4 separate regions of the Homo sapiens genome follow, and all the other regions are linked to region 1. Evidence: promoter capture Hi-C in 16 types of primary human blood cells and fetal thymus (Javierre and others, 2016). All regions are on one chromosome and are shown on one strand. Each heading gives the region's core, a stretch centred on a gene start or on the middle of the fragment in contact. The rest is flanking DNA. Distances are from core to core; before and after follow the strand shown. Region 1 holds the start of POLR2C (RNA polymerase II subunit C). Region 2 overlaps CFAP20 (cilia and flagella associated protein 20). Region 3 holds the start of ZNF319 (zinc finger protein 319). Region 4 holds the start of SPMIP8 (sperm microtubule inner protein 8).

Region 1 (3,002 bases), core at 39-2,538:
AGTGGTAATTATAGTACCTCTGCGTCTCTGGGCTCAAGTCTTCCCATCAGTAAAATACGGGTAACAGAAGCCTTCCCACAGACCATCAGCTCCCTTGGCTGCTCTTGTCTGACGATTTTAGTGGTACATTCTTTAGCCCCAGTAATTTTCTCAGCCTCTACACTGGCTGGGTTCCCTTTGCACGTCTGGTTAGCTCTGTTTTCTGCTTTGCTCTCTTCTGCCTGTCAGCTGAATATTAATGGGGGAAAGTCAGCAACTAATTGAATTTCAGATCTCTTGTGGGTCTTCCACTGGATCTTTTTTGCACCTCTCAATTCCTTGTATCTCTTGACATCCTGTGAAGTTTTCGCAGTAGCTGTTCCAGTTTTCATTGCATTCTCCTTTTTCCTTCATAGCATCCATCTTACACTCAGCAGACAACCATAATTCTTAATTTACCAAGATGACACAGGTTATGGAGCAGGGTTCCATCAGTGCCCACCCTCTGTTTCAGGAAGAGGTGTCACTCTTTGCAAAGGCAAACTCCTCTTTATCTGGTTACTCTTCTCCCAACTCTTAAATGTATTTCCTGCCACGTTCTATTTTAGAGCTTTTCTCTGTTGGAGCAGCAGCCACTTTTTTTGAGGCCCATTTAAACCTCTCTCCAGTCTGTTTAGGGGACTTCAGTAGTTCTTTGTTGAGCATGCACCCCACATGGTGCCCACTGCCAGGCACTGGGGATGCAGAGACAAAGAGTTCCCACTCACCCACCACAGCTACACAGACTGTAGAGGAAGCATTAGGTTAAAGAACATTGTATCTTTTCCTGAAGTTTTCAGAAGTGCATGGTCCATACTTGAGACTGCAAGGGAAAGGGTATTTACTTATAATTCAGGTATACTTTGCTAAAATATACATTCATATTAAAATATACTTTTGTTTTTCTATAGATGTACAAGTTCTTTTTAAGTGCTTCATAGTATTCCATGTGTGTATACTCCACCAGGTCTCTTATCAATGGACAGTACAAACAGTACTACCACGAACGTCCCTGCACTCGTATCTTTGTTTACAACTGCAAGTGTTTCTGCAGTATGAATTCTTAGAAGTGTTACTGTTAAGTGAAGGACGTATGCGTGTTTTGCCAAACTACCCTCCGAGATAGCTGAATCTGGTACATTTTAAAGCAGGAGGCCGCAGAAGACGCTCGGCAGTTCTGGCCTCCGAGCAGCAGGCGGCGCTGTGAGTCGTCTTTGCGGAAGCCGCGGAGGCCTCGCTGACTGACTTCCGGTGTTGGCGGTGGCGCCGCGCAGTCACCGCGGAGCAGACGCGGAGGCTGGTGGCCCCTGGGCGAGATGCCGTACGCCAACCAGCCTACCGTGCGGATCACGGAGCTCACTGACGAGAATGTCAAGTTCATCATCGAGAACACCGACCTGGCGTAAGGCTACCGAGGGAAGAGGCTGGCGGCTCTGGGGCGCCGGGAGGCCCAAGCCGGGGCCCCGGGGCAGGGGGCGGGGGTGTAGTGGGGTGGGGTGGGGGCGATGTCCTTCCAGAGCTGCCCCCCTGCACCAGGGCTTTAGCTTTGGGAGCCTGCGGCGCGGGCCCAGCCTGTCGAGGCTGCAGCGCCTTCACGCCCCTTGGCTTTTGATCTTTCAGGGTGGCCAATTCGATTCGGAGGGTCTTCATCGCTGAGGTTCCCATAATAGGTAAGCGACTCCCCTTCCTCGTTCCCGCGCCCACGGGTTCCTGCCCCGCTCTCCACCCACACACTCTTTGGGGCTCCTTCCAGTCCTTGGTTCGGGCTGAGGGTGGTAGTGCTGAGAAAAGTGCATTGCTGGAGACTTGACCATACCCTGTGCCCTTGGCTCAGTGGCCGCCTCCCTGGCGCCCACGGGCCACTTAGGTCCACCCTTGTCCTGGGTATGCATTGCTGAGAAGCATGGGTTTAGCAGTGTGCAGACTTGGGTTCAAATACTGTTTTCACTACTATTGTTACAAAAGTTTTTAAAATGTTTTCAACTTTTATTTTGGAGTCAAGGGGTACATTGGTGCAGGTTTGTTGCCTGGGTATAGTGCGTGATGCTGAGATTTGGGGTATAAATGATCCTTTCACCCAGGTAGTGAGCATAGTACGCAATAGGTAGTTTTTCACCCCTAGCCCCACTGCCTCCCTTCCAGCTCTAGTAGTCACCAGTGTGTTTATTGTCATCTTTATGTCCGTGCGTACCCAGTTTTAGCTCCCATGCGGTGTTTGGTTTTCTGTTCCTGTGTTAATTCTCTTAGGATAATGGCTTCCAGGCCGCGCTCGCGCCTGTAATTCCAGCACTTTGGGAGGCCAAGACTGAGGAACACCTGAGGCCAGGAGTTTGAGACCAGCCTGGCCAACATGGGGAAAGCCCGCCTCTACTAAAAATGCAAAAATTAGCCAGGTGTGGTGGCTCCCACCTGTAATCCCAGCTACTGGGGAGGCTGAGGCAGAATTGATTGAACCCAGAAGGTGGAGGTTGCAGTGAGCCGAGATCATGCCACTGCACTCTGGCCTGGGCAATAGAGTGAGACTCCTTCTCAAACAAAAGAAAATAAAAAAGAAGATAGTGGCTTCCAGCCACGTCCATGTTGCTGCAGAGGACATGATTTCGTTCGTTCTTATGGCTGCATCACTTACTGCTTTTGTGAAACTTGGGCAAGTTATTAAACTTCTGTGTGCTGCAGTTTCCTCATCTGTAACATTCGGCCACTAATGATCCTTATCAGGGTAATGTTAAGGATTAAGTGAGGTAATCCATATAAGTGCTTTGTGTTTAGTGAGTGCTCAGTGCTGGTAGATGGCTTTTTTATTAATCTATTCCTTCAACAGCATTTATGGAGCATGAAAGTGGCAGGCATGGTGGTAAGCTCTGGGAATGCAAAGCTGTAGAGAACAGGGTTTTTGCCCTCATGGAGTCCACAGTGAGGTTGTAGGGGAGAGATGAATCCACAGACAACACTAAAGCAAGGTAGATTTTGATCAGTAGTTCAGG
Region 2 (3,002 bases), core at 326-2,825, 660 kb after region 1:
ACCTGAGATCAGGAGTTTGAGACCAGCCTGGGCAACATGTGAAACCCCATCTCTACTAAAAATACAAAAAAATTAGCTGGGTGTGGTAGCGCATGCCTGTAATCCCAGCTACTCAGGAGGCTGAGGCAGGAGAATTGCTTGAATCCAGAAAGAGGAGGTTGCAGTAAGCTGAGATTGTGCCATTGCACTCCAGCCTGGGTGACAGAGCGAGACTCTGTTTCAAAAAAAAAGAAAAACAAAACCAAAAAACCATGTCTTCGTTCAATTACAGTAAAACCTGACTCAGAATAATGAAGAACATTCTCCAAGTCAGAAAAAAAGTTTTACCACCTTTATGTCCAAATACACTCAATTCTACTACTGAAAACAGCACCAATTTAATTTTTATCAACAAGGCATGCTAACTAAAAACTAGAATGTAGGAAATTTTTTCTGAAGAGAGACTTTATTTTTAAAATTAGAACAGGACATGGGAATCTAACACTATCCAGCAACAGCAGAAGACTCTGGTCTAATATTTAGTCTTGGAGTAGGGGAGAAACAGCAGCAGCTGAGAGAAAGACAGGGTGACAGGAAAGACAGACAAAGGCGTTTTCATGAATTAATGCAATCTCATCTCATGTACTTTTAGGATACTATCTTGTTTTTTTTGAGACAAAGTTTTGCTTTTGTTGCCCAGGCTGGAGTGCAATGGCACCATCTCGGCTCACCGCAACCTCCACCTCCCGGGTTCAAGTGATTCTCCTGCCTCAGCCTCCCGAGTAGCTGGGATTACAGGCATGTGCCACCATGCCCGGCTAACTTTTGTATTTTTAGTAGAGACGGGATTTCTTCATGTTGGTCAGGCTGGTCTTGAACTCCTGACCTCAGCTCGCCTTGGCCTCCCAAAGTGCTAGGATTACAGGCGTGAGCCACTGCGCCCAGCCAGGATTACTACCATTAAGACCGAAAATTGGCTGGGCGCAGTGGCTCACGCCTGTAATCCCAACACTTTGGGAGGCCAAGGCAGGCGGATCACGAGGTCAGGAGATCGAGACCATCCTGGCTAACACGGTGAAAACCTATCTTTACTAAAAATGCAAAAAATTAGCTGGGCGTGGTGGCGGGCGCCTGTAGTCCCAGCTACTCCGGAGGCTGAGGCAGGAGAATGGCGTGAACCCAGGTGGTGGAGCCTGCAGTGAGCCGAGATCGTGCCACTGCACTCCAGCCTGGGGGACAGAGCAAGACTCTGTCTCAAAAAAAAAAAAAAAAAAAAAAAAAAAAAAAAAAGACTGAAAATTACAGCATGTTTTACACAAGTATAAGTGGGAACAGAACCTCCTGGTATTTTCCTTACAACCAGAAGTAATGTTTACATTAAACGTAAGAGTCTTTTAATAAATATAAGATTTGCTGGTCCCAGATGTCAAGGTAACATTAAAGAAACCCCTAATTTCTTCTAAGCTGTTGGTTTAGAAACTTACAAAAGCTTCTATCAGGAAACTGTATAGCCAGGAATACAGACCTTAAGAAGCTAATAATGTCAAGTGTGATAAGAAAGAAGTAAATTAACTTACCCTGAAGAGTTAAGGAAGGTCACTCTGAGAAAGGCCTTTGAACTGTGACTGGAGCCTAATGAAAAGATGGGAGTGAGGCTTGTGGGGTGGTGAGGGGCAGCGCCCAGCAGAAGGACCAGGAAGTGCAAAAGCTTGAAGGTGAGAGAACAGGACTTCCTTCAATTCAGTAGGAGGCTACTACTAAGAGGGGGAACCGGGTGAAGTGAGTCCCGCCTGGAGAACAAGTGAAGCAGGTGCCAGAGCATGGGTTATGTGGCCTTAGAGCCACATTAAGGGCTTAGGGCTGGGCGAGCCACGGTGCAACAACTAAATTCTTCTCATTTCAGGAGTCTGGTTTTACAGTACTTCCTATTCCTAGAAATCTGGATGGTGGGCTAAGTTCAAACATCTTATTTTAGTTTTGAGCAAATTCCTCAGTCCCTGCCATATTTAATTCTGTATGTCATTACTTATAAAGTACTAACTACAGTCATGCATTGCTTAAGGATGGGATTACGTTCTGAGAAATGCCTCATTAGGCAGTTCCATGGCTGTGTGAATATCAGAGTGTACTTACACAGACTTAGACAGTACAACATCCTACACACCCGGGCCATATGGTATAGCCTATTGCCCCTAGGCTACAATCTGTACAGCATACTACTGTACTGAATACTGTAGGCAACTGTAACATAATGGTACGTATTTGTGTGTCTAAACATAGAAAAGGTACAGTACTGTATAAACGATAAAAAGTGACACAACTGGATAGGGCACTGGCCATGAGTGGAGCATGCAGGACTGGAAGTTGCTCTGGGTTGAGTCAGTGAGTGAGTGGTGAGTGAATGTGAAGGCCTAGGACATTACTGAACACTTTGTAAACACAATACACTTATGCTACAATACATTTATTTTATTTAGTTATTTAGTTAGTGCTGGGATTACAGGCATGAGCCACTGTGCTTTAGTTATTTAGTTAGTGCTGGGATTACAGGCATGAGCCACTGTGCCTGGCCAGACTACACTAAATTTATTAAAAATATTTTTCTTTCATCAATAATAAATTAACCTTGGCTTACTGGAACTTTTTTACTTTATAAACTTTAAAAATTTTAAAAACTTTTAGACTATTTTGTAATAACACTTAGCTTAAAACACAATGTTCAACTGCACAAAAATATTTTCTTTCTATATATCTTTATTCCATAAGGTTTTTCCTATTTCTTTTTTTAACTTTTTAAACTTTTTTGTTAAAAACTAAGACACAAACACACACATGAGCCCAGGCCCGCACAGGGTCAGGATCATTAACATCAATCACAGTCTCCACCTCCACATGCTGTCCCACTGGAAGGTCTGCAAGAGCAATAACGCACATGGCGCTGTCATCTCCTATGACAACACTGCCTTCTTCTGAAATATCTCCTGAAGGACCTGCCTAAGGTTATTTTACAGTTAACTTTTTGT
Region 3 (3,002 bases), core at 243-2,742, 540 kb after region 1:
ACCACCCAGGCTTGATGTCCACACAGCAGAACTTCCTCACTCTGGTTCTCTCCCAGAACTCACACACACACACACACACACACACACACACACAAAGTCCTAAATCCTCTGAATCTCATAGTGTCAAGGCCTGCAGGAAAATGTAAGAAACTGCCCTGGTCTGCCTTGGCAATGCAGGATGCAGCATGCTAACCACAGAGCATTTCTCATCACCTCTCTAGAGACAACTCCATTCCCTTACTCCAAGCCTATAAAGTTCTGGGTAATTGTTGGAAGGTAAAGCCCACCCAGCCCAGGCAAATCTCTAACTCACCACTTTGTGGCAGCATGAGGTAATGCCAGCGAGAGGGAGGAACTTTCAGAGTCAGATGCAACCCACTTCCAGGTTCCCAGCTCATCTGCCTCTTACATTTAAAAGTTTGTAAGTTTTCTCCTGAGCAGAGGAAGAAGGAAGGAGAAGCCTTCACAGGACAGTCTGGCCTCTAACTGCTCTGCCAAAGAAATGTAAGAGTCAGGCTAAAAGCTGTCATCCTCAGCATCTTCCGGAAGGGAGGGAGGAGAGGAGCGGCTGCTCTGGGTGGAGGCAGCAGGTTGCTTGAGCAAGCAGGTACCACTCTAAGCCTTCTCGGGACAGAGAGGGGGAAGGTGGGCTTCTCTGAGCGCCTGTAGGTCCGCTGTGCCAACCCACTGTTTTGTTTGCTTTTTCTGGCATGAATGGCTGTCAGACAGTGTCCCCTGGCTTGGTCTGCAGCACCCCCTGCCCACCCTGGCCCTCCTGCAGCAAGGTGCAGCCAGGAAGCCTCTGTGATCACTCCGCAAAGGGGAGAGAGGAGGCAAGGAGAGGCAGGGGAGGCCCCCCACCTGCGCCCCACCCCGTCTCTTCTTCCTCCCTGAGAAACCGAATGAAAGCCGATCACCTCCCGCCGGCCCTGCCTGCAGGCCCAGCTGGGCTGCGTCCTGTCAGCCCTCGTCCGGGATGGCCCGGCCGCTGCGACCCGAGGGCGAGCCCCGAGGGCGGCCGGGCTGGAGAAAGGCCCCAGGGCTACAGGCCGGGCCCAGGAAGCGGCTGCGCCTCGAGGCCCGGCCTGGGCCGCCCAGAAGCTCAAGAGGCCGCTAGGTCGCGGCGGAGGGGCGCGGGGGGGCGGCCGGGCCGGCAGAGGAAGGGGTGCGGCGGGCGCGGGGGTGGCCCCCAGATGCGGCCCCGGGCGCCCCGCCGCTCACCTGCTCCAGGCCGCCTGCAGGGCAGGCGCGGGGCGAGCGGCGACCAGCTGCTCTCTCGGCCGCCCCTTTATTCCGGCTCCATCCGCGGCGGCGCGGCCTACGCGCGCTGCCAATCCCCGGCCTCGCGTAGCGGCTGCGGCCGGACCGGGGGCGGGGGACGGGCTAGCGGCGGCCGGAACGGAGGAAGCGACGCGCGCTGCCGGAGTAGCGGGGCCGGGGCGAGGAGCGCCGGGAGGGCGGGCGGACGGACCGATGGCCTTGCGGAGACGGGCGGACGGGCGGGCGGCGCGGGGGCCAGGGAGGCGGGGCCGGGGGAGGAGCGGCATCCCGGGCGGCGGCGGCCAATGCGGGAGGAGCGGGCGGCGCGGAGCGAGGCCGCCCCCTGCCGGGGACCCCGTGGCCGGGCCAGGTCGGACAAGCCGGGTGCTCCGGGCGGTTTTCGAGTCGCCAGGCCTGGGCGCCTCGACTAACCGAGGAAGGGCGCTCTGCTTCCGGCCACCCCGCTCGGGCTTAGGGGAGGGGGCTCCGGGTGACCGCCCTCGGCCCGGCTCTGCGCAGGAGAGGAGGGGCCTCCTAGAGGCTCTGGTCTGCCACAATTGATCCGCCCCTAACTGCTCAGCTTGGCTTTTAGGGGCTTGGACTTTGGGCTGGTTTGAGGAGGGGGCTCCAGGACCTCTGATCCTGGCCGGGCTCGGGGCAGGCAGGGGTCTCCGCTGGGTCTAGTGCGCTGACCCGGGACTGTCGTGTCTGGTATGTCTGGTCCCGGGTGGCTGCAGACAGCAGCGGGCAGAAAGGTGAGGGCCCTGAGCGATATATGAAATGGGTACACGAAGGCTGGGGAGGTCCCAGCGGGGTGCCGGGAGGCTGCAGGTGACCAGATCCGCGTGCGCAGCCGGCAGACAGCTTGGAGTCGGTGGGCTGAATCTTCACCACTGTCCTGCCGGGTTCCGCCCCTCCCGGCTCCGCCCCGAGGCGGTGCCAGCCCAGGCCCCGCCCCTGGGAGGGCGCTTCCGGCACAGCGGAACTCCGGGTGCCGGTTGAGGTTGCTGGTGGACCTGCTCTGGTGGTCTTGGATGAGGCCCCATGAGCGCGGCGCCCCTGGTGGGCTACAGCAGCAGCGGCTCCGAGGATGAGTCCGAGGACGGGATGCGGACCAGGCCGGGGGATGGGAGCCACCGTCGGTGAGGAGTGAGGAAGTCTCTCCGGAGGGCGCGCGCATTCACCCTAGAGCCAGACGGGACCCGAATGTCTGGGGGTGGAGTGGGGAGGGAGGATGCGGGGCGGCTCTGGGAAGGAAAAGGGGACGCAGGAAGAAAGGAGGATCCAGAAGATATACCCCTCCCCCCCACCCCAGACAAAGCTCCAGAGTGGCCCCACCTGGCTAGGGCCAAGTTGGGAGGCCAGACCTGGGTTCGGGTCCAGCCTCGCGCTGGCCCACTCTATCGCCTGGCACACATCCCTGTACCATCCTAGGTCCGTTTCCTGATTTGAATACAATTGCGATAGTAATACTTGCTAAAGCGTAGGGAGAGCCTTTTCATTCATCCAGTAAATATTCACTGAGCACCCACTCCCTGCCAGGCTGGGGTCTGGTAATTCAGTGGTGAACAAAACCGTCGGCCTTACTTCCTGGGGCTTAGATTCTTAAATGCTAGGCCTTATCTTTGCTGAGTGCTTTACAAGCAGTAGCTCAGTTGATCCCACAATTGCTCTATCAGGTAGACATATACTTTCAGATGAGGCATTTGAGGCCCAGAAAGGGGACATGACTTGCCCAAGGT
Region 4 (3,002 bases), core at 244-2,743, 510 kb after region 1:
ATATACTTTTTTTTTTTTGAGACGAAGTCTTGCTCTTGCCGCCCAGACTGGAGTGCGATGCTGCGATCTCGGCTCACTGCAACCTCCGCCTCCCAGGTTCAAGCGATTCTCCTGCCTCAGCGTCCTGAGTAGCTGGGATTACAGGCTTGCACCACCACGCCCAGCTAATTTTTGTGTTTTCAGTAGAGACAGGTTTTCACCATGTTGGCCAGGCTGGTCTCAAACTCCCAACCTCAAGTGATCTGCTCACCTCAGCCTCCCAAAGTGCTGGGATTACAGGTGTGAGCCATCGTGCCTCACAATATACTTTCATTTCTCTTGGGAAGCCTCCTGGGGTAGAATCTTCCAGATGACCCAATCATATGGTACATTTCTGTTTCATTTTTTAAGAAACTGATAAACTGTTTTAAAAGTAGTACTCCATGTCTTGACCAGGGTGGGTGGTAGTTATACGGGGTCTCATTTTGTAAATTATTAGTTACATTAGATATTTATTCACTTTCTGTATTTCTTCTATTTTATAACTTTAAAAGAGTCAAGAAATAAATTGGGGGTGGGGTGGTGAGTGGAGTCAACTCTGGGAAGGTTTTTTGTAAGGGGTAGCAGTTAGGAATGCTGTTCTGGAAGCTGTATGGAGCACTGGAGGAGGAGCAACTGGGGAAACAAATCCTACAAGAATTTCACAGGAGGGGCTCCAAGACCCATCAGGTTCAGCCCCTGGGCAGGTATATGCAAAAGCACATGCCAATATATGCAAATAAGTTAGGATCTCCTGGGGTTTCCTCACCTTGGGGGTCTGTCTCTAATGGTTGTGACCAGGATGGTGGGCAGGCCCCAGGGCTTTGGGGTGCTGGCCTTGGGCACTCACAGCCTGGCTTTTCTGGGAGCCTGCAGTCCTGCAGGGGCTGAGGGTGGAGTATCATCTGCTAATCCCTGGCCTGCTGAGTCCACCACTCTCCCTGATCCCCTCACGCTTACCCTGGATACTGGCCACAGCTAATCTCCACTCCTGGAGACTCAAGGGCTGGCAGACAGTGCAGTGCCCTCTTCCCTGAGGGTTCCAGGGAGGGGAGATCCCTCTCAGCATCCAGATCCTCCTAACGGCAGATCCTAGAGTCCTTGCCTAACACAGAGGAGAGCCTTGAGTCCCAGAGAGAGGCGGTAATTAGCCCAGGATTACACAGCCTGCAGTGGGCTCAGTAGCCATTTCTGGCCTGCCTTGGCCTGACTACCTCCAGGGAACCCCAGCTCCCCATCTGACATTTCCCAAGATGCCTGGCCTGTGCTAAGGCCTGGGAGACCACAGCCTTCAGGAAGGCTGGAAGGGAGTGGCCAGAGCACAGGAATTCTGGCACAGGCTCTTGTTAGAGCCTGTAGTTGCCAGGGTTGCTAAGGAGTGGGTGCCTCAGAATCAGGCTGCAATGGGCATTGTCTGTGCACAATGTTCCTTTATTCTGCTGCTGTCCATAATAAGGGCTCGTCCACCTCCCTTCCTCTTCTGCCCATTGAGCAGTCAAAGAACTGAAAGTCCTTATAAGCCTGTGCACCTGGGCCTGGGCCCTACAGATAAGGTAGCTGCTATTGGTGAGTCAGAAGCAGGGAGCCCTTGCTCTCTTCCCCATATCCGTGATCCCCCTCCCTGTCCCTCCCCAGGCAGTCACATCCCCTAAGGCAGCTTCCCCATGCCTTGTCACCATGCCCCCTCCCTGCTCCTCCATGATCTAAGGTCCTCTCTCCTCCTGCCACCCTAGCTTCCACCTCCACCTCTCACCTCTAACTCAGGGTCAGGAAGAAAGCAAGCTGTCTCAACAAATTCTCACTAAAGTGTAAATGACTGAAAGGCTCCTGGGACTATCTGCTTTTTAAAGGGAGGCACTGGGTATCCAGTAATGCTTTTCTAGTTTAAATATATCATGTTGCTCCCCTTCCTGAAAATCTTTCTGAGTCAATCTGTAGAATTTTGGGTAAATAGCTAGGGCAAGTCCATAATTATTCACCCAGAGGTATACGGCATACTAAGCTACATTCTGAACCCGCTTGCTGCTGCACTTTCCTGCTTATTATTTAAGAATAGACTCGCCAGGCAAGGTGGCTCACACCTGTAATCCCAGCACTTTGAGAGGCTGAGGCGGGTGGATCACTTGAGGTCAGGAGTTCGAGACCAGCCTGGCCAACACAGTGAAACCCCGTCTCTACTAAAAATACAAAAACTAGTCACATGTGGTGGTGGATGCCTATAATCCCAGTTCCTCAGGAGGCTGAGGCAGGAGAATCACTTGAACCCAGGAGACAGAGGTTGCATTGAGCCAAGATGGCGCCACTGTACTTCAGTCTGAGCAGAAGAGTGAGACTGTCTCAAAAAAAAAAAAAAAAAGAAAAGAAAGAAAGAAAAAAAAACGAATAGACTCAAATACCACCTCTTTTAGACCATTCCTTGAATGTCCTAACCCCAGCCTCCCCAGAAACACACACTCTGTACTGACCTCCCTCACAGCCATGGCACAATGTGAGTGTGTGTGTGTGTGTGTGTGTGTGTATGTGTGTGTTGGAAGGGGAGTGGGAGGGTTGTCTCTGTTATCTTCTGTTATCTGAATGTTCCTGCCACCTCATGCTGAGCTCCAGAAAAATGGCCTGGCACACAGTAGGTGCTAAATAAATGTTTGGCAAGTAGACATCGGCACTGGCCAAGGTTGTTTTCATGCAGAGAAGGGTGTCTGGCCAGCATGAGCCCAGGGTGAGCCCCTTAGAACCCTCTGCCCCCCAGCTATGGCCCGCATCATTGACCTGGTGCCCTGGGACGATGGCTCCACACATGTGTATGCCTCCCCGGCCATCCTGCTTCCCATGGAGCGGCAGCGCAACCAGCTGGCGGGCGTGAAGCAGCAGCTCTACCACCCAGCCCTGCCCACCCTGCGCCACATGGACAGGGACACCGTCAAGGCCTGCCTTCCTGATGAGCACTGCCAGTCCACCACCTACTGCCGCAAAGGTTAGGACACCAG

Evidence for each region. The method cuts DNA at HindIII sites, captures the fragments that hold promoters and counts their contacts. A CHiCAGO score of 5 or more calls a contact.
Region 2: a fragment that was not itself captured here is called in contact with the fragment with the promoter of POLR2C in region 1 in 1 of 17 cell types (neutrophils); the score reaches 5.0 in neutrophils.
Region 3: a contact is called between the fragment with the promoter of ZNF319 here and the fragment with the promoter of POLR2C in region 1, in 2 of 17 cell types (neutrophils and naive CD8 T cells). The highest score is 6.2, in neutrophils.
Region 4: the fragment with the promoter of SPMIP8 here is called in contact with the fragment with the promoter of POLR2C in region 1 in 8 of 17 cell types (non-activated CD4 T cells, monocytes, total B cells and 5 more); the score reaches 7.3 in non-activated CD4 T cells.

The regions. Positions count from the first base shown.
Region 1 is chr16:57,461,391-57,464,392 of GRCh38, forward strand. It overlaps POLR2C (RNA polymerase II subunit C), which reads left to right and starts at 1,289. Exons shown (of 9, transcript NM_032940.3): 1 at 1,289-1,420; 2 at 1,639-1,688. The coding sequence starts at 1,335. RefSeq lists an enhancer at 1,147-1,441. The HindIII fragment of the contact is 6,497 bases long and covers 1-3,002 here.
Region 2 is chr16:58,122,361-58,125,362 of GRCh38, forward strand. All of the region lies in intron 1 of CFAP20 (cilia and flagella associated protein 20), which reads right to left. Among named protein-coding and RNA genes, the nearest start is that of CFAP20, 5.5 kb to the right of the region's middle. The HindIII fragment of the contact is 219 bases long and covers 1,467-1,685 here.
Region 3 is chr16:57,999,180-58,002,181 of GRCh38, forward strand. It overlaps ZNF319 (zinc finger protein 319), which reads right to left and starts at 1,493. Exons shown (of 2, transcript NM_020807.3): 1 at 314-1,493. It overlaps USB1 (U6 snRNA biogenesis phosphodiesterase 1), which reads left to right and starts at 2,228. Exons shown (of 7, transcript NM_024598.4): 1 at 2,228-2,402. The coding sequence starts at 2,305. RefSeq lists enhancers at 577-846, 1,704-1,873, 2,046-2,340, 2,367-2,466 and silencers at 967-1,096, 1,147-1,746, 2,037-2,286. The HindIII fragment of the contact is 9,268 bases long and covers 1-3,002 here.
Region 4 is chr16:57,975,051-57,978,052 of GRCh38, forward strand. It overlaps SPMIP8 (sperm microtubule inner protein 8), which reads left to right and starts at 1,494. Exons shown (of 8, transcript NM_199456.3): 1 at 1,494-1,584; 2 at 2,765-2,989. The coding sequence starts at 2,767. The HindIII fragment of the contact is 9,202 bases long and covers 1-3,002 here.